6 separate regions of the Homo sapiens genome follow, and all the other regions are linked to region 4. Evidence: promoter capture Hi-C in 16 types of primary human blood cells and fetal thymus (Javierre and others, 2016). All regions are on one chromosome and are shown on one strand. The core of a region is centred on a gene start or on the middle of the fragment in contact, and the rest is flanking DNA. Distances in the headings are between cores, read along the strand shown. Region 1 has its middle 29 kb from the start of CD2. Region 2 overlaps TTF2 (transcription termination factor 2). Region 3 overlaps CD101-AS1 (CD101 antisense RNA 1). Region 4 holds the start of TENT5C-DT (TENT5C divergent transcript). Region 5 has its middle 19 kb from the start of CD2. Region 6 holds the start of CD2 (CD2 molecule).

The links. Contacts are between HindIII fragments. The CHiCAGO score rates a contact against its expected background, and 5 or more counts as called.
Region 1: a contact is called between a fragment that was not itself captured here and the fragment with the promoter of TENT5C-DT in region 4, in 1 of 17 cell types (non-activated CD4 T cells). The highest score is 5.5, in non-activated CD4 T cells.
Region 2: a fragment that was not itself captured here is called in contact with the fragment with the promoter of TENT5C-DT in region 4 in 2 of 17 cell types (neutrophils and megakaryocytes); the score reaches 6.4 in neutrophils.
Region 3: a contact is called between a fragment that was not itself captured here and the fragment with the promoter of TENT5C-DT in region 4, in 4 of 17 cell types (neutrophils, naive B cells, naive CD4 T cells and 1 more). The highest score is 6.6, in neutrophils.
Region 5: a fragment that was not itself captured here is called in contact with the fragment with the promoter of TENT5C-DT in region 4 in 1 of 17 cell types (total CD4 T cells); the score reaches 5.7 in total CD4 T cells.
Region 6: the fragment with the promoter of CD2 here is called in contact with the fragment with the promoter of TENT5C-DT in region 4 in 1 of 17 cell types (non-activated CD4 T cells); the score reaches 5.4 in non-activated CD4 T cells.

The regions. Positions count from the first base shown.
Region 1 is chr1:116,723,501-116,726,532 of GRCh38, forward strand. No RefSeq gene overlaps it. Among named protein-coding and RNA genes, the nearest start is that of CD2, 29 kb to the right of the region's middle. The HindIII fragment of the contact is 2,746 bases long and covers 376-3,032 here.
Region 2 is chr1:117,072,693-117,075,542 of GRCh38, forward strand. TTF2 (transcription termination factor 2) reads left to right here. Exons shown (of 23, transcript NM_003594.4): 4 at 969-1,035; 5 at 2,178-2,850. Among named protein-coding and RNA genes, the nearest start is that of TTF2, 14 kb to the left of the region's middle. The HindIII fragment of the contact is 827 bases long and covers 906-1,732 here.
Region 3 is chr1:117,053,214-117,056,333 of GRCh38, forward strand. All of the region lies in intron 1 of CD101-AS1 (CD101 antisense RNA 1), which reads right to left. Among named protein-coding and RNA genes, the nearest start is that of CD101-AS1, 4.7 kb to the right of the region's middle. The HindIII fragment of the contact is 6,290 bases long and covers 1-3,120 here.
Region 4 is chr1:117,604,507-117,607,258 of GRCh38, forward strand. TENT5C-DT (TENT5C divergent transcript) reads right to left here and starts at 1,264. Exons shown (of 3, transcript NR_121626.1): 1 at 1,140-1,264; 2 at 283-430. It overlaps TENT5C (terminal nucleotidyltransferase 5C), which reads left to right and starts at 1,542. Exons shown (of 2, transcript NM_017709.4): 1 at 1,542-1,647. RefSeq lists enhancers at 356-856, 857-1,357 and a silencer at 1,268-1,607. The HindIII fragment of the contact is 6,964 bases long and covers 1-2,752 here.
Region 5 is chr1:116,772,127-116,775,028 of GRCh38, forward strand. No RefSeq gene overlaps it. Among named protein-coding and RNA genes, the nearest start is that of CD2, 19 kb to the left of the region's middle. The HindIII fragment of the contact is 2,071 bases long and covers 320-2,390 here.
Region 6 is chr1:116,752,845-116,755,717 of GRCh38, forward strand. It overlaps CD2 (CD2 molecule), which reads left to right and starts at 1,586. Exons shown (of 5, transcript NM_001767.5): 1 at 1,586-1,709; 2 at 1,787-2,107. The coding sequence starts at 1,649. RefSeq lists promoters at 1-1,703, 1,261-1,703, a silencer at 1-339 and a cis regulatory region at 173-202. The HindIII fragment of the contact is 7,255 bases long and covers 1-2,873 here.

The sequences.
Region 1 (3,032 bases), core at 499-2,998, 880 kb before region 4:
ACGTGTGACCAGTGACACTGTATGGGACAGCACAGCTGCAGCGTGTTGGTTAAGATCCTGGCTCAGAAGTCAGATAAACACACGTTTCCATCCTGGTCCCTACTCACTAACTGTAATCAGGCAAGTTATGGCCACGTATCCTTGGCTCCCTCATTTTCAGGATGGGCACAATTGTGCCTACCTCGAGGAGCAGTTGTGAGGATGGGGTAACAGGGTGGAGATAAAGCACTTCACACAGTGCCTGGCAGAAGGTTAATGCTCAATAAATGTTCAGTGTTTGGTTATTTCCTAGGAAGCTCCTCAAAGGGCTCATACCACTCTCTAGACATTGCAGAGAGGTGGTCCTAAGACCTCAGTGCTGGTGTCTTCCCTGGAAGCTTCCCTTGTCCTAAGTGATATCACATAAAGTTGACTCAGGGGAGGACAAAGTTGGAGCAGAGGGAGAGTCAAAGGCCTCTAAACCAAACTTCTCACTACTTTTGAGACTTCCCTGGGGAAGTGAAGACTGCTAGTTGCTCACACAATGTTTGAGTGACCATGTGCCCTAATAAAAGACCGCAACTCCCAGGCTATCTTACAGTTAAGGGTGGTCAATAAGATGCAAGCAGACATTGTTAAATCTAAATGTACATTTCAGGACTTTCAGGAAGTCTTAAGAGGGGTCAGACAGTTTATATCTTCTCTCTTGTCTTTTGTCCCTTCACCTTTCCTCCTACTTCCTATGTGGAATTCAGACATGATGGCTGGAGCTCCAGCAGCCTTAAGGAAGTGTCTTTGAGGATGGGAGCCCTGTACTACTAATGATGGCAGAGCAAAAACAAAAGAGGCCTGGGTTCATGGACACCATGAAATCACGGTACCAACCTGGGCCTGCCCGCCTTCAGATTTCTTTTATATAAAAGAAACCACTTGTTTTGGTCTGTTTTGTACTGCTATAACAGAATACCTGAGACTGGGTAATTTATAAAGAACAGAGATTTATTTCTTGCAGTTCTAAAGCCTGGGAAGTACAAGGTACAGGGGCCTTCATCTGGTGAAAGGCTTCTTGCCGTGACATCCCATGGTGGAAGGTGGAAGGGCAAGAAAGCATGGACACGAGAGAGACCAGGAAGCAGTCCAAACTTATCCTTTTATCCAGGAACACGCTTCTGCGAGAAAAGCATTAATCTATTCACGAGGGCAGAGCCTCTTAAAGGTCCCACCTCCCAATAATGTTGGTTTGGGGATTAAGTTTCTAACACATGAACTTTGTGGGACACATTCAAACCATAGGACCTCCATACCATGTTTATTACTTTTGTTTTCTCTTATGTGTAGCAGCTATGAGCTAGTTATTTCTAAGCAGTGATTAATTCTACAAGTCCAGGTTATTATGGCATATAGTCAATGAAAGAAAGGGCTTGAGAAAATCAGTCCAGTCTTTATTCCTTCATCCTGCCTGCAGGGGGCGTCTAAGTCTGTGAACAACATTAGAGATACCTGTTCCAGTCAGTCTTTTTTTTTTTAATCGTTAAACCTGTTCATTATTTTTTTCTTCCATTGATCTCGTGTTCCAAAATATTGTGTTTCTACCGTCAGTTAAGTTTTGTTGGTGTTTTTGGTCATAAAAAACATTTAATAACCTGGGTGTGGTGATGCATGCCTATGGTCCTAATCCTAGCTACTTGGGAGACCGAGTCAGGAGGATTGCTTGACCCAGGAGTTTGAGGTTACAGTGAGCTATGATTGCACCACTGCACCGCAGCCTAAGCAATAGAGTAAGACCCTGTCTCAAAAAAATATATCAATAAATAAACAAAAAATAAACATTTAGCAACCATAGTGGATTTTGCTTTGTTTCGTTTTGTGGGCTGTCCAGCAGCTGATCTCCTTCTTATATTTGGGGAATTCTCCTAATAAAATAGAGCCTCTGATGGCCTAATACTTGTTGTCCCTGTCCTTCAGCAGCTGGACAAGGGCACACAAGGCTTAAGATTTACCAACTCTGCCGGGCACGGTGGCTCACGCCTGTAATACCAGCCCTTTGGGAGGCCAAGGTGGGTGGATCACGAGGTCAGGCATTTGAGACCAGCCTGGGCAACATAGTGAAACCCGGTGTCTACTAAAAATACAAAAAATTAGCCGGGCATGGTGGTGCATGCCTGTAATCCCAGCTACTCGGGAGGCTGAGGCAGGAGAATCACTCAAACCCGGGAGGCAGAGGTTGCGGTGAGCCGAGATCGTGCCATTGCACTCCAGCCTGCACAACAAGAGCAAAACTCTGTCTCAAAAAAAAAAAAAAAAAAAAAAAATTTGCCAACTGGATGGTCTCACCTGGGACTTTGCATCTGGAGCAAGTAACACAAAGCAGCAACCATGGTTTGGAATGCAGTCCACTGGGCAGTGACATCCCATGTCCTGGTGGTTCCAGTGGGTCGGTGTCTGGTGTCCAGTGGTATCCCAACCATGCCGCTTCTGTGGTGTGACCTTGGCTGAGCTCTTCATTGCTCAGCTTTTCCTGGCTACTGCGCATATCCAGAGTCTGGTCTTCCTGTCTTTTCATTTGCTCTGGAGCTGGCAGACATTTTCCCAAAGCAATTATTTTCTGCTTAAGTCAACTAGACTTGGTTTCTATTGCATGCAGCCAAGAATCTTGATGGATACACATGCTAAGCAACATGATTTTATCTATGATACCTGCAGAGTTGACATCATTCAACCAGAGCAAGAGACAGTGTTCATATTAGGCAACATAGCCTTAACTGGCAACACATGCACTTTCTTTTGAGCTTTTAAAAACATTGCTCCATTGCTATCATTGTAGACCCCCAAGGAGAAGGTACCCCAGCCTCCTGGAAACCACTGATATCATTGTATATCCTAATATTACAGATGAGAAAATGGAATCTCAGAGAGTTGAAGTGAATTGCTCCATGTGTCAGGCTATAGAAAGAATTTCTCAATGAGGGTCATTAGCCATTCATTCATGCACTACTCCTGGCCTGTGGAACTCAGAGTCAGGTAGGAGAGATGGGTGATTCTTGGGGAAACAA
Region 2 (2,850 bases), core at 69-2,568, 530 kb before region 4:
GATTACAGGTGTGAGCCACCGCACCCGGCCAAGATATGAACTATTTTTTAAAAAATATTTGTATGTTTTAGAGAAGGGAGTCTTGCTGTGTTGCCCAGGTTTGAGTGCAGTGGCTATTCACAGGCACAATCTTAGCACATTGCAGCCTCTGGCCTCAAATGATCCTCCTGTCTCAGGCCCCTGAGTAGAGGGGACTATAGGTGTGTGCCACTGCATCCAGCTGCACTCTTTTAACATACCAGTTGGTTTACATATTTTCAGTGGACTCATAAATGTCATAGTTTTTTTTTAGTAGTTTTAATTTGTTTAAATCAGGATCCAAATAAGGTTCACAAATTGGAATTGATTAATATGTCTTTTAAGTCTCTGAAGTTTTCCCTTCATCTTTTTTTCTCCCTCGTAACTTATTTGTGGAAGGGATCAGGTTGTTTGTCCTATAGCGTTTCCCACTGCCAAGATTTTGAAGGTTATATTCTCCACAGTATAGTTTTACGCCTTCTTCTGTTGTTTCTATTTCCTATAAATTGGTAATTGGATCTAGAGGTTAGTTTTTTGTTTGTTTTGGCTTCGTTGTTTTGGGGTTTTTTTTGGGGCAACATTGCTTTGTAGCTAGTGTTGTGACCCCCCTTCAGGGACACACAGTGTCTGGCTGTCTCTCATTTCTCTGATTTTAGTAGCCATTGCTGATCAGTGTTTCTATTTCAGTCATTCGTTACAGACTAAAAAGAATAAACCTGTGTGCATTCTCTGGCTACCATGCCATATTTATTCTTGGACTTCCTAGCCCTTATAAATGTTCTGTGCAGTAAATAATTTTTAAATGTGTATATAAAAGTAATTGGTTTCAAGTGACCTCCCAAAGCCAGGTTCAAATAGTTGCAAGATGTTTTCTTGGATTAAAAATAAGCTTATCTCTTGTTCTAATGGATTTTCATAGCCTTGATTATTTGTGTTTTATACTTCATTAGATTGTTCTTCCGATGCATTAGAAGTAAGGCAGAGGGGAAACGCTGGTGTGGAAGTATTCCATGGCAGGTAGGAATTATTCATCTGTTTTCAAACCTGCTGTGTTAAGACTTTTAATATGCAGCATCACCTGAAAATACCTTGAAGTTCACGTAAATGAGTTGGTCTTCATCAGACTGTCTCCGAAAGATAGTTTTCTTTAAGCAAGGTAGGCCCTGTTGGGACTTTTATTCAAAGGATCATTTAGTCGTAATCAAGATTAATTATTTGCATCCTATTTCACTTAGTAAATATTTTTTGAGGTCTTAAATGTAGTCAGTATTCTTTTACTCAAGGAAAAAAATAGATTTCCTTGACTAACTCTTGTATCTTTTTATAGAGGAATTTCTACTTGATACTGGTATAAGCTAAGTATAAGCATAAGCTCCTAGTATGTTAGAACTAGGAGGAGCATCTCCTAATAGGAGAAGCCCTACAGATATTCAGTACGTGAGGAACTAGAAGTAGGGAGGTGATAAGACTTGTTTTGGCAGAGGTGTGGCTTGAACTTACGATTCTAGATTACCACAGTAAAATCCTCCTAAAGCCAAAATCAAAGCAAGTGTTTTAAGACAATGTTTAGGTTTGGGGAAAAGTTCATCTTAAGAGAATAGTTTTTTTCCTGAAAAGTATACACTGTGGCCATTGTGATTGTAAAAGCACTTTGGTTTGTCACTACTTTTCCTTGAGGCCTGGAAAAGAGTGATCATGGACAGAGAAGGAACCAAGCTTCGAAAGTATCGTGAAGAAATGAGTCCTTTGTGGGTTTGGCACGTCATCTTTTCTAGACGTGGAAATGGTACCAAGAATGTTCAGGAAATATTGGACTGCTTTTACTGTGTTTCCATTTCTTCTGCAGAATAATCCTAAGTGAATTAATGCAGGAACAGAAAACCAAATATCATATGTTCTCACGAGCAGGAGCTAAACATTGAGCACCCATAAACATGGGAACAATAGATACTGTGAACTACTGGAGAGGGGAGGAGGGCATGGGTTAAGAAACTATCTATTGGGCACTATGCTCACTGCCTGAGTGCAATATACTCATATAACAAAGCTGCATATGTACCCCCTGTATATAAAATAAAAGTTGAGATGAAAAGGAAAGGCATTCTAGATACGAAGTTTGTATTAATATTTTATATGAAGATTAATTATTTTGTCTTTAGGATCCTGATTCCAAAGAACATTCTGTATCCAATAAGTCTCAGCATGCATCTGAGACATTTCATCATTCTTCCAACTGGCTGAGAAATCCATTCAAGGTACTTGACAAGAATCAAGAACCAGCTCTCTGGAAACAGCTCATCAAAGGTGAAGGTGAGGAAAAGAAGGCTGATAAGAAGCAAAGAGAAAAGGGAGATCAGCTTTTCGATCAAAAGAAAGAACAGAAGCCTGAAATGATGGAGAAAGACCTCTCATCTGGCCTGGTACCAAAGAAAAAACAATCTGTAGTTCAAGAGAAGAAGCAAGAAGAGGGAGCAGAGATTCAGTGTGAGGCAGAGACTGGAGGCACACACAAAAGAGACTTTTCTGAAATTAAATCTCAACAGTGCCAAGGTAATGAGCTTACAAGACCATCTGCATCTTCTCAGGAGAAATCAAGTGGTAAGAGTCAAGATGTCCAAAGAGAATCAGAACCTCTGAGAGAAAAGGTTACCCAGCTTTTGCCTCAAAATGTTCACAGTCACAACTCAATAAGCAAGCCCCAGAAAGGGGGACCCCTCAACAAGGAGTACACGAACTGGGAGGCTAAAGAAACAAAGGCAAAGGATGGCCCTAGCATACAGGCCACCCAGAAAAGCCTGCCTCAGGGGCATTTCCAAGAGCGGCCGGAGACCC
Region 3 (3,120 bases), core at 232-2,731, 550 kb before region 4:
CTGGAATGGGAAGATCACTGGAGCCTGGGAGAACAAGGCTGCAGTGAGCTGAGACTGCACCACTTCCAGCCTGAGGGGCTGAGTGAGACCCTGTCTCCAAAAAAAAAAAAAAAAACAAATTGACATGACTATACTCATAGTACATAGTACATTGTATAATGTTTGTTACTTAACATTATACAAATGATTACTATGTCTTTTTATGTCTTTGTATTAATAACAATTAATGTCATTTTAACTTAGGTTTAAGTTCCATACAAACGTTAAAGGAAAAAGACTTTCAAGACCATTTAAAAAGAGGAAGATGATGGCTAAAAAGCACACGAAAAAGAGTGCCACATCAATAGAAAAATCAAAATTCAAACAAAAGTCAGATACCACTTCATACCTACTAAAAAAGGCACGCAATAACAAGCATTGTTGAGGACATGAAGAACTGGGAACCCTCATACGTTGCTGGTGGAAATATAAAATGGTATAGCCACTTTGGAAAGTGGTTTGGCAATTTCTTAAAAAGTTAAACAAACTAACCATATGAACTAGCAATTCCACTCACAGGTTTATCTGCCCAAGAGAAATGAGAACAAATGTTCATATAAAGACTTTAACGTTAGGCCGGGTGCGGTGGCTCATGCCTGTAATCCCAGTACTTAGGGAGGCTGAGGCAGATAGATTACCTGAGGTCAGGAGTTTGAGACCAGCTTGGCCAACATGGTGAAACCCTGTCCCTACTAAAAATATAAAAATTAGCTTACGTGGTGGCTCGAGCCTATAATCCCAGCTACTCGGGAGGCTGAGGCAGGAGAATTGCTTGAACCTGGGAGCTGGAGGTTGCAGTGAGCCAAGATCATGCCACTGCACTCCAGCTTGGGTGACAGAGCAAGACTCCATCTCAAAAACAACAACAACAAAAAACAAAAAAACAAAAACAAAAACAATAAAACAGACTTTAACATTAATGTTCATAGCAATATTATTCCTAATAATTCCAAAGGGAAAATGATCCAAATGTCCACCAACTGGTGAATGAACACAATGGAATATTACTCAGCAATAAAAAGGAGTGAAATACTGATACATGTGCAACATGGGTAAACCTCACAAGCATTATGTAAGTGAAAGAAGACAGAGGCAAGAGACTACATATTACATGACTCCATTATATGAAATGTCCAGAAAAGGCAAACTTATAAAGACAGAAAGCATATCAGAGGTTGCCTTGGGACTAGCTGGGGGTGGCAGTTGGGATTGACTGCACACAGCTTTGAGGAAAGTTTTTGAGTGATAGAAATGTTTTAAAACTGGATTCTGGTGGTGATGGCACAACTTTATAAATTTACTTAAACAATGAATTGTGGGCCAGGTGTGATGGCTCATGCCTGTAATCCCAGCACTTTGGGAGGCCGAGGCGGGTGGATCACCTGAGTTCAGGAGTTCGAGACCAGCCTGGCCAACAGGGTGAAACCCCATCTCTACTAAAAATACAAAAATTGGCCAGGCGTGGTGGCGGGCACCTGTAATCCCAGCTACTCGGGAGGCTGAGGCAGGAGAGTCACTTGAACCCAGGAGGCAGAGGTTACAGTGAGCCAAGATCATGCCACTGTACTCCAGCCTGGCAACAGAGTGAGACTCTGTCTCAAAAAAAAAAAAAAAAGAATTGTGGCCGGGCGCGATGGCTCAAGCCTGTAATCCCAGCACTTTGGGGGGTCGAGGCGAGTGGATCACCTGAGTTCAGGAGTTCAAGACCAGCCTGGACAACATGGTGAAACCCCATCTCTACTAAAAATACAAAAATTAGCTGAGCGTGGTGGCACAAGCCTATAATCCCAGCTACTCAGGAGGCTGAGGCAGGAGAATCACTTGAACCCAGGAGGCGGAGGTTGCAGTGAGCCAAGATCCTACCATTGCACTCCACTCCAGCCTGGGTAACAGACAAGACTCCAACTGAAAAAAATACCTGTACATTTACCAAAAAAAAAAAAAAAAAAAAAGAAGAAGATAAAGAGCCTGCATTGAACCACTTTTGGAATAATATTTTAAGAACAGTGAAATTTGGAATCTAGTACTGAAAAAATATTGGTATAACAAAATAATTTGTAAAGTCTCTTGGCTTTACAAATTATAACCACATTTGTTCTCACTATAGTATCATCCTGATCGAGCCTATGTCAAAGGACAAGTTGAAAACAGTCATATGTTTGAAAGGCACAAAATGAAATGAAATGAAATTGAATTACCATTATATATCTTCAAACAAAAAGAATGAAACAGAGGAGGGTGGGCCTCAGTTTGGTTTTTATGTTACTAGGCTGCTACCTAGTGGTCATTTATAAAATGGCAGGACTTGGGTTTTTGGTTTTTGTCTTGGATTTGTTGAGCCATGTCTCTACACCACAGCAAATACCTAAACACTTACCGATGTGTGGGTTAAATATCTGAATGCATTGCTGAATAATTTATGCTTTATAAAAATACTATAGGCTGGGCGCAGTGGCTCAGGCCTGTAATCCCAGCACTTTGGGAGGCCGAGGCAGGTGGATCACCTGAGGTCTCAGGAGTTCGAGACCAGCCTGGCCAACATGGCGAAACCCCATCTCTACTAAAAATACACAAAATTGCTGGGCGTGGTGGTGGGTGCCTGTAATCCCAGCTACTTGGGAGGCTGAGGCAGGAGAATTGCTTAAACCTGGGAAGTGGAGGTTGCAGTGAGCCGAGATCACGCCACTGCACTCCAGCCTGGGCGACAGAGCGAGACTCCGTCTCAAAAAAAAAAAGAAGAAGAAGAAGAAGAAAAAATACTATAGTGGCAAGAACTGGATTGAAAGTTCTGAAAAATGGCCTTTAGTCCCTGATTGGCTGCTGTCAGCTTTGTGACTTTGAGCCAGGTCAAAATTAATCCATGGGGACTATCCGGTTCCAAAGTTTTAGGAGCAGCTCTGTAAGGTAAGTTGGCCTTGGGGCCACCTCCTTAACTGCTCTAAACTTTAGTATCTTCATCTTAAAAATGGGGATAAAAAATCCCATCCCTAGGCTAGTTGTGACAATTAAATGTGACAATGCATATAAAAGTACTATCTCAGAACACACCTCAGGAAAAGTTAGAATATGACTTTCCCTCTC
Region 4 (2,752 bases), core at 14-2,513:
TGGTAATCCTTGTCGGATACTGAATGGGAAGGGGCATGAATGAGCTGGAAAGGTTCCACATCTTGATATGGATGGCAGTTACATGGGTATGCATATGTAAAAAATTATCATTCTGGACACTTTTGATTTGTGCGCTTTACTGAATGTTATACCTCAAAAACAAAAAGTAAAACAAAAAATCAGATCATATGTCTTGATTTCGCGTCTAACAATAGGATCACTGGCTTTCCCTATAAACACTCATATTGATGTCCTATCGCATTAAAGTTCCTGGATACTCACTCTCCTCTCCCTCGCTGGGAAAGACATATTTGAGAACTCTTCATAGTCTGACAGACAGGAGAACCACACTTATTTCAGGCAGGGTTGGAAGAGTAGGGCGGAGGAGATGTAAATACTGCATCTGGGAAGTAATCTTTTCCCCCAGCACCTAGTAAACGATCAATACAAGTACAATAATGTCTATTGATAAATAACATTGTCCAACATTGGCTACTATCTGATACATACAGCATTTGCCACACACTTTCTAACAGGCACTAGGCAATGCACTAATTGTTTCCCACGTATTTTCTTAATACTTATATAATTCTACAGAGCTGTCCCATTGTTAGTCTTGTCCTACAGATAGGAGACGCAGGTTGTTGGAGGGTTGGTTCAGTTACTTGCCTAAGGCCTTACAGAAAGTTTAAGTGGTGCATGGAGATCTCAACTCAGATTAGTCTGAATTCAGAACCTGGGCTGTAAACCACTCGCTATGTTATGAATGGATGGTGTCCAAGCCCTGCCTGCATGTTATATAACACACTGGACCAAGTGCTGTGGCATTCCGAATGGGGCCGAAGCGGCTGCGGCTGCCGACATTGGCGATGGACTCCCCGAGGCCCTTCGTCCCACTAACTGCACACAGGTGGTCCCCGGGGCCAGAGAGCCGCCGGCGCTCTCTCCCCGAAGACCACGCCTTCGCCTCCAGCCAGTTTGCTTGGGGAATCAGAAAGGTGCCCAGGGCCCAGAAACCATTAAGTTTTTTCCGACTTCAAAAACACACACCGGAGGTAGGCGTGGGCGTTACCCGCCTCACTCCTGGGGGCAGGGAGAACCAACGCGAAAATCCCCAGAGAGGCGGAAGAAAAACCTGCCTGCGAGAGAATAGGATGGAGATGGGAAAAGCCTGGGGAAGAGAGAGTTATGCGGCAGGAATAGCAGAAAAGCGTACTAAGCAAAAAGAAAGGTGTCCCACTAACTCCGAAGTTAAGTGGGTGTCGACGCAGCCCCCTCTATTGCGCTTGCGCAGTGCTGCCTCCCTGAGCACCCCGCCCCTTCCCGCCGCTGAGGATTTACTCGTCTCTTGGCAACCATTCACCCGAAGAGCCAATCAGAGGGCAGCCCTCGCCCCGCCCCTGCCGTCAGGGCCGGGCGGAAGGGTCCCGAGGGGACTGGCTCCGCCACGCCCCGCCCCTGGCTCCCCCGGGAGGGCGGCTCAGGGGCGGGGACGGGGGCGTGGTCCCGCCGTATAAGAACGGAGGGGGCGGCGGCGGGACGGCTCACTCGGTGCCGCTGCCTAGGGGCTGTAGAGGTCGCGCCGCTCCTGCTGGGGCCTGCCCACGCCAAGGACCTGCCTCTGTCGCCTCCTCTTCTATTGCCCAGGTGAGTCCGCGACCCCCCTCCTCTAAAGGTGCGGCGATGCGGCAGCAGCCCCAGGGAGCCGCGAGCTCACTTAGTGGGGGTCCGCCCCCACTAAGTGGTGCTCAGGTCTTTGCCCAGCCTGGTAGGGGGCAGGCGGACCCGAGGGGAGCTGCGGACAGGTGCCGAGACCCGGTGCTCCTTTCCCCTCCTGCTCCCTCGAGGACCCCCGCCCCTGACACACCCGTCCCAAAGGGCCAGAAGAGACGCTCCGAAAGGGAGCTACAACTTTCCAGAGACCTGGGGCTTGGCAAACTCCAGCGAGTTCCTGCTCCGCGCGTCCTGCAGGCTGCGCGCTGGCCAGGCGCGGGCAGGGCGTCTGAAGAGTGTGTGATCGGCGCCTCCGCTCCTACCTGGATCAGACGGCGCCCCCCGCCACCCATGCCTCCCTTCCTGGCTTGCAGTCCCTCGGGCTCGCCCCGGCGCTCCCGCGGGCGCGCACACCTTCGCCGGCCCGCCGAGTGTGAATTCGAATTCGGCGGTTTCACTAGGCGCAGCTGGAGACGCAGCGGTCCGGGGCTTGGATCTGGTTGGGGAGGGGAGGGGCGCTTCCTAGGCTCATTGCCAAGTCCTGAGTTTTAAGGAGAAGGGCGGAGATCCTTAAATTTAATGCGCTCACATCAGACTGTGGACACCATGAGCAGCAAAGGGATCCAAGCCAGTGACTTGTGCGCTGCGCGTCTCTCAGAAACTTCTTGGGAATGCGGTGTCTGTGAAACCTGCTTCCTCTCCTTTTGAAAATGAAACTTGCTTTACTGCGTAGGTGAAAAGCCACGGCAAGTGGGTCGACTCGGACGGATACCGGTGCGGCTGCCCCGGGAGGTGTCGCAGTTCGGGGACTCCCTTCGCACTGGTCGCGAGGCAGGAGGGAGCAGGGTGGGAGGCGAGTCAGAGGAGGGTGACTTACCTGAAGAATACAGGTTGGTAGCCTGCACACCTGAACTCAACGCTGGCGGGCGAGAAAACCAAGCAGCGCTACCTCCAAGTAAGGGCGCTCCCCTGGAGAAATGAATGCCTGGCGAGCTTCTGGAGAACCCACTATTAGGGCTGGACCCTGCGGGAGGGATAG
Region 5 (2,902 bases), core at 105-2,604, 830 kb before region 4:
TGCAGTGACTTGGTGACTCAAGTTCACCAATAAGTTTGCCACCTCAGGACCACTGTACATGCTGTTCCTATTATACATGCTGTTCCCACTGCCCACACTTTTCACCTGGCTCTTCACCTGTCCACATTCTTCTTTCAGAGTTCAGACAGAAAGTCATTTCCTGGGGGAGACCTTTCCTAACTCTTGAACTCCACTGTAACGTGAATCTTGTGTGAGACCATCTCTGTGTCCAGTTCTGTGCCCATGAAGTTCAATGTAGTAGAAGACTCACAGGTATCGAAGCCAGGAAGTTCTGACTCTCTCTCTCACTGGATTTGTAAGCTTGAGTAATTTATTCAGCTTCTGTAAACACTGATTTTCTCATCTGCTAAATGAGGATAACACCTCACAAGGTTAGAGTGAGGACTAAATGGAAATAATGTATGTAATGTAACAAATATATCCTTGTGTACAGAATGCATCTGAAAACTGTGAGCTTTATTTCTGGCATGATACTCAAGAAGGAATATCCTGGATGGCACATATAAATGGGCTAGTTATTGGAAAGACACACAGCTCATTATAAATTGATAAATAAGCACTCTGTAAGGTGACTTAGTCTGCTATGAGTTTGATTCATCTGAGTCAGTTTCATAATGTTGCCTCACATGGAACAAATGGATGATAAAATCCTACACCAGAGGTATTTAAAGCTAAAGAACAGACCTGTGAGGCCACCTCGCAAATCCTAGATTGAGTCACCAGCCTTCTGTCACTTCCCTGGCTTCATAAGCAGGGTTTTCCTGAAGAAAAAATGCCAGGACATTACTTAAGTACATGGCATCTTTCTGGTTTATTTATAGCAACACAGAACAAAAGGATGAGGAAACAAGGGAAAATTCTGATCTTTTTAATTGCCTACCAGACAATGACATTACAAAAAAGAAACTACAGGCCAACAACTCTCACAGATACAGATGCAAAATTTTTCAAAAAATATTAACAAATCAAATTTGACTGACAATGTATAAAAAGGACTATACATTACAACCAAGTGGGATTAATCTCAGGTATGCAAAGCTGGTTCAACATTTGTAAATCAATTAGTATAATCTATCATATCCACAAGCTAATGAAGAAAAATCACATGATCCTATAAGTAGATACAAAAAAAGAATTTGACTCCTGTTTATCAACACCTGTTTATCAAAAAAACTTTTGGTAACTGGGAAGAGAGGGAAACTTCCTCAACTTGATTAAAAAAAAATCTACAAAAAAGACATGCACCTAACATTTTACTTAACAATGAGAAACTCTAAACTTTCCAGTAAGATCAGGAATCAGGATGTTTCCTCTCACCACTGTTTCTCAACATCATATTAGAAGTCTTAGCTAGTGCAATAATACAAGAAAAGGAAATAAAATGTATGCAGGTTGGGAAGAAATAAATAAAACTATCTTTGTAGATGACATGATCGTTTGTGTAGAAAATCTGAAAGAATCAACAACAAAATAATACTGGAACTAATAAGGGATTATATTAATAGCAAGGTTGTATTAAATAATTCTTACAAGGTTAATATTAAAAAGTCCATCAGTTTCCCGTATACCAACAATGAACAAGTGCAATTTGAAATTAAAGACATAATACCATTTACATTAGCACTCAAAAAATGAAATACTTAGGTATAGATTTACATGAAGAAAACTACAAAACTCTAATGAACAAAATAAAGGAAGAACCAAATAAATGGAGAGCTATTTTATGTTCATGGATAGGAAGACTCAATGTTGCCAAGATATTAATTCTTCCCAACTCAATCTGTAGATTCCGTGTAATCCTGGTCAAAATCTCAGCAAATTGGGCTGGGTTTGGTGGCTCTTGCCTGTAATTCCAGCATTTTGGGAGGCTGAGGTGGGCAGATCACTTGAGGTTACGAGTTTGAGAGCAGCCTGGCCAACATGGTGAAACCCCGTCTCTACAAAAAGTACAAAAATTAGCCGGGCATGGTGGTGTGCACCTGTAATCCCAGCTACTTGGGAGGCTGAGGCAGGAGAATCGCTGGAACCTGGGAAGTGGATACTGCAGTGAGCCAAGATTGTGCCACTGCACTCCAGCCTGGGAGACAGAGTGAGACTCCATCTCAAAAAAAAAAAAAAAAAATCCCTGCGAACTATTTTGTGGATATTAAAGTGATTCTCAAGTTTATATAGAGAGGCAGAAGTCCCAGAATAGCCAATATAATATTGAAGGAGAACAAAATTGGAGAACCAAACTGCCCCACTTCAAGATGTACTATAAAGCTACAGTAATCAAAATAGTATGGTATTGGTGAAAGAAGAGACAAATAGATCAAATGGAACAGAATAGAGAGCCAGAGAAACCCATATAAATTTCATCGTCTTGTCCAAGCTTGTCCAACCCTCAGCCCGCGGGCACCATGCAGCTCAGGATGGCTTTGAATGTGGCCCGACACAAATTTGCCAACTTTCTTAAAACATTATGAGATTTTTTTTCTGTACTCATCAACTGTTGTTAGTGTTAGTGTATTTTATGTGTGACCCCATTCTTCTTCTTCCAGTGTGGCCCAGGGAAGCCAAAGGATTGGACACCCCTGATTTGACAAAGGAGCAAAAGCCAAACAATGGAGAAAGAATGGTCTCTTCAACAAATAATGCTGGAACAACTTGACATCCACATACACAAAGAGAAAAATGAATCTAGACACAGATTTAACAGCCTTCATAAAAATCAACTCAAATTAATTACAGACCTAAATTTGGTGGCCTGGATACTAAATTTATTTATTTTAAGGAATAGTACAAATCAAAGAACTTAAGTGGATGTTTTGGCATAACTTACAGAAAAGGTAAAGGAAACCCCACCGTGCAGGCACTGCTTCGGTCCAGAGAGGTCACCCCG
Region 6 (2,873 bases), core at 336-2,835, 850 kb before region 4:
TGTAAATCTTACTTCTTTATATCATCAGTTGTGTTCATCTTTTCTTTCTTACTTTGGATTATATGTTATATGTAGCCAGGCCTTCCATACTCAAACTATAGGAATATCTTTCTATATTGTCCTTTTAGCATTATTGTTATTATTTTATTTATTTAGTTATTTATTTTGAGACAGAGTCTCACTCTGCTCCCCAGGCTGGAGTGCAGTGGCACAATCCTGGCTCACTGCAACCTCCGCTTCCCAGATTCAAGCAATTTGCCTGCCTCAGCCTCCTGAGTAGCTGGGATTACAGGCGCACATCACCACACCTGGCTAATTTTTGTATTTTTAGTAGAGATGGGTTTCACCATGTTGGCCAGGCTGGTCTTGAACTCCTGACCTCAGGTGAGGAGGTCCGCCTCGACCTCCCAGAGTGCTGGGATTATAGCTGTGATCCACCACCCCCGGCCTCCTTTTAGCATTATTATAGTATTTTTGCATTTAAAACTTTAATCCAACTGTAGTTCATTATTGTGGATGACGCTCATACAACCATGAGGTAAATATTTGGCTTTCTTTTACCCAGTAACAGCAAACAACTGCTTTGACTTAATTTCATTTCCTTGGCAACTTTCTGACAGATAATATCCATATTTGTACTTAAAGTTGAAAAAGAAAACGAGCACCACTTTTGCAATTTTTACTCACTGTGACCTAAAGAATTATAACCCTGAAAATGTGCTTTGGAAGTCTGTCATGGTTATTTCTCTTTTTAGGCATCTTTTCAGGGCACACCCGTCTCTGCATCACTGTCTGTTTCCTTGTGTCACAAATTTCTGTTCTTTTTTTCTCTCCCTGTTCCCTCTCATTTATTTTTTCTCCTAATCTCTCCTTTTTCTTAACCACCTATAATGTTAATCACTTTAAATGCTTTTGACTCCTTTGTTTTGGTAGTTTAATTATATTTCATAGTCTCTATGCTTCTTTGTTTTGGAATAAGTTTTTATTTATCTAACTGTGAATTTCACTAGAGTTGTAAAATGTATGCCGAACATAGGATTTGGGGATTGCAAGCATTTACAGCTGATATTCAATTTCTTTCTTTTCACCACAAAAACGATTTTAGAACATGAAAAATATCTTTGGAGAAACAAAAAAATCAATTTCCTCATCATTTTATGGGTCTACATTTTTCAATATAATCATATGGGATAAATGTTTGCATTCTGCTATTGGCTTGTGAACATTTACCTATATTTCTATGTGGTCTTGTTAGGGACAGTATACCTAAGTGGATAAAAGGCTGTGTGGTTGAATTTGGCTTCTTGTTTACAAAAGAGTGATCCTTAGTGATCTACTTAGCCTCTCTGTTCCTTTTCTCTTTCACTGAGATGAGAAAACCTATCCTTCCCAATTTTTTTGTGTGAGAATTAAAATGCAGCAAGAAAACACACACTCATAAACACATCTGCTTTGGCAAAGGAGCACATCAGAAGGGCTGGCTTGTGCGCGCTCTTGCTCTCTGTGTATGTGTATTATGTTTTATGTTACTGTAAAAGATGTAAAGAGAGGCACGTGGTTAAGCTCTCGGGGTGTGGACTCCACCAGTCTCACTTCAGTTCCTTTTGCATGAAGAGCTCAGAATCAAAAGAGGAAACCAACCCCTAAGATGAGCTTTCCATGTAAATTTGTAGCCAGCTTCCTTCTGATTTTCAATGTTTCTTCCAAAGGTAAGCATAAGAGTCAAAGAAGTCCCAACCCAGCTTTCCCTGAAAGTGACTCTCAGTAACTCTTTTGCTTTTTATAGGTGCAGTCTCCAAAGAGATTACGAATGCCTTGGAAACCTGGGGTGCCTTGGGTCAGGACATCAACTTGGACATTCCTAGTTTTCAAATGAGTGATGATATTGACGATATAAAATGGGAAAAAACTTCAGACAAGAAAAAGATTGCACAATTCAGAAAAGAGAAAGAGACTTTCAAGGAAAAAGATACATATAAGCTATTTAAAAATGGAACTCTGAAAATTAAGCATCTGAAGACCGATGATCAGGATATCTACAAGGTATCAATATATGATACAAAAGGAAAAAATGTGTTGGAAAAAATATTTGATTTGAAGATTCAAGGTAAGTGTTCATTCCCTTAATTGCTTTATTTCAGTGTGGGTGCTATTTGGCAAGTTGGAAAATAGCATTTCTAATATTCCCCAGCGCTGACCTCTGCCTCCAGGGGGGCTATACAGGAAACCAGATGCATGTCTCCTGCCCCAGTGGAGACTGTGGTCCAATGCGGGAATGGGATCCACACATCTGATAGACCCTCAAGTCTACCTGCCTACAACTCTGTCTTCAGGTGGTTACAGGAATGTGGGGTTGGGTGAAGAACCTGGATTAAGGTGGCATTAATCGGGAGGGGGACACAGGTAGGCCGAGGGAAAAGGCAACTGTTCCAGGTTGCTGATGAATCGGCGAGCTAAGAGTGGGGCGAGAAGAAGAGGCTGACTGGAGAGCAGCGGGCCTTTCATCGACAGAGCCCATTTCAAGCCAGGCTGCCCTGAAGGAGGAGTTATATGGCAGAAAAGGGCTGGAAACAACATATTTAAGGATGAACAGCCCTTATTTTGGATCTGCTTGTCAGAGTGATACAAGGTGGCAGGTGATTTTTGCTGATATGTGTAGAAGATGCACAAGGTGTGGCTTTGTATATCTCTGCCTGTACTGGGAGGACAGGAGTGGATATTGAGGATGGGGTTAGGGAGACTAGTTAGAAAGCTGCTGCTGTAATCCAAGTGGAGTGAGGACCAATTAAATCAGATTTTTTTTGCATGCGGCCTGGGTATCATTAGGTTCTAAAGCTCCCTGGGGGATTCTAATGAGCTGCCAAAGTCAATCG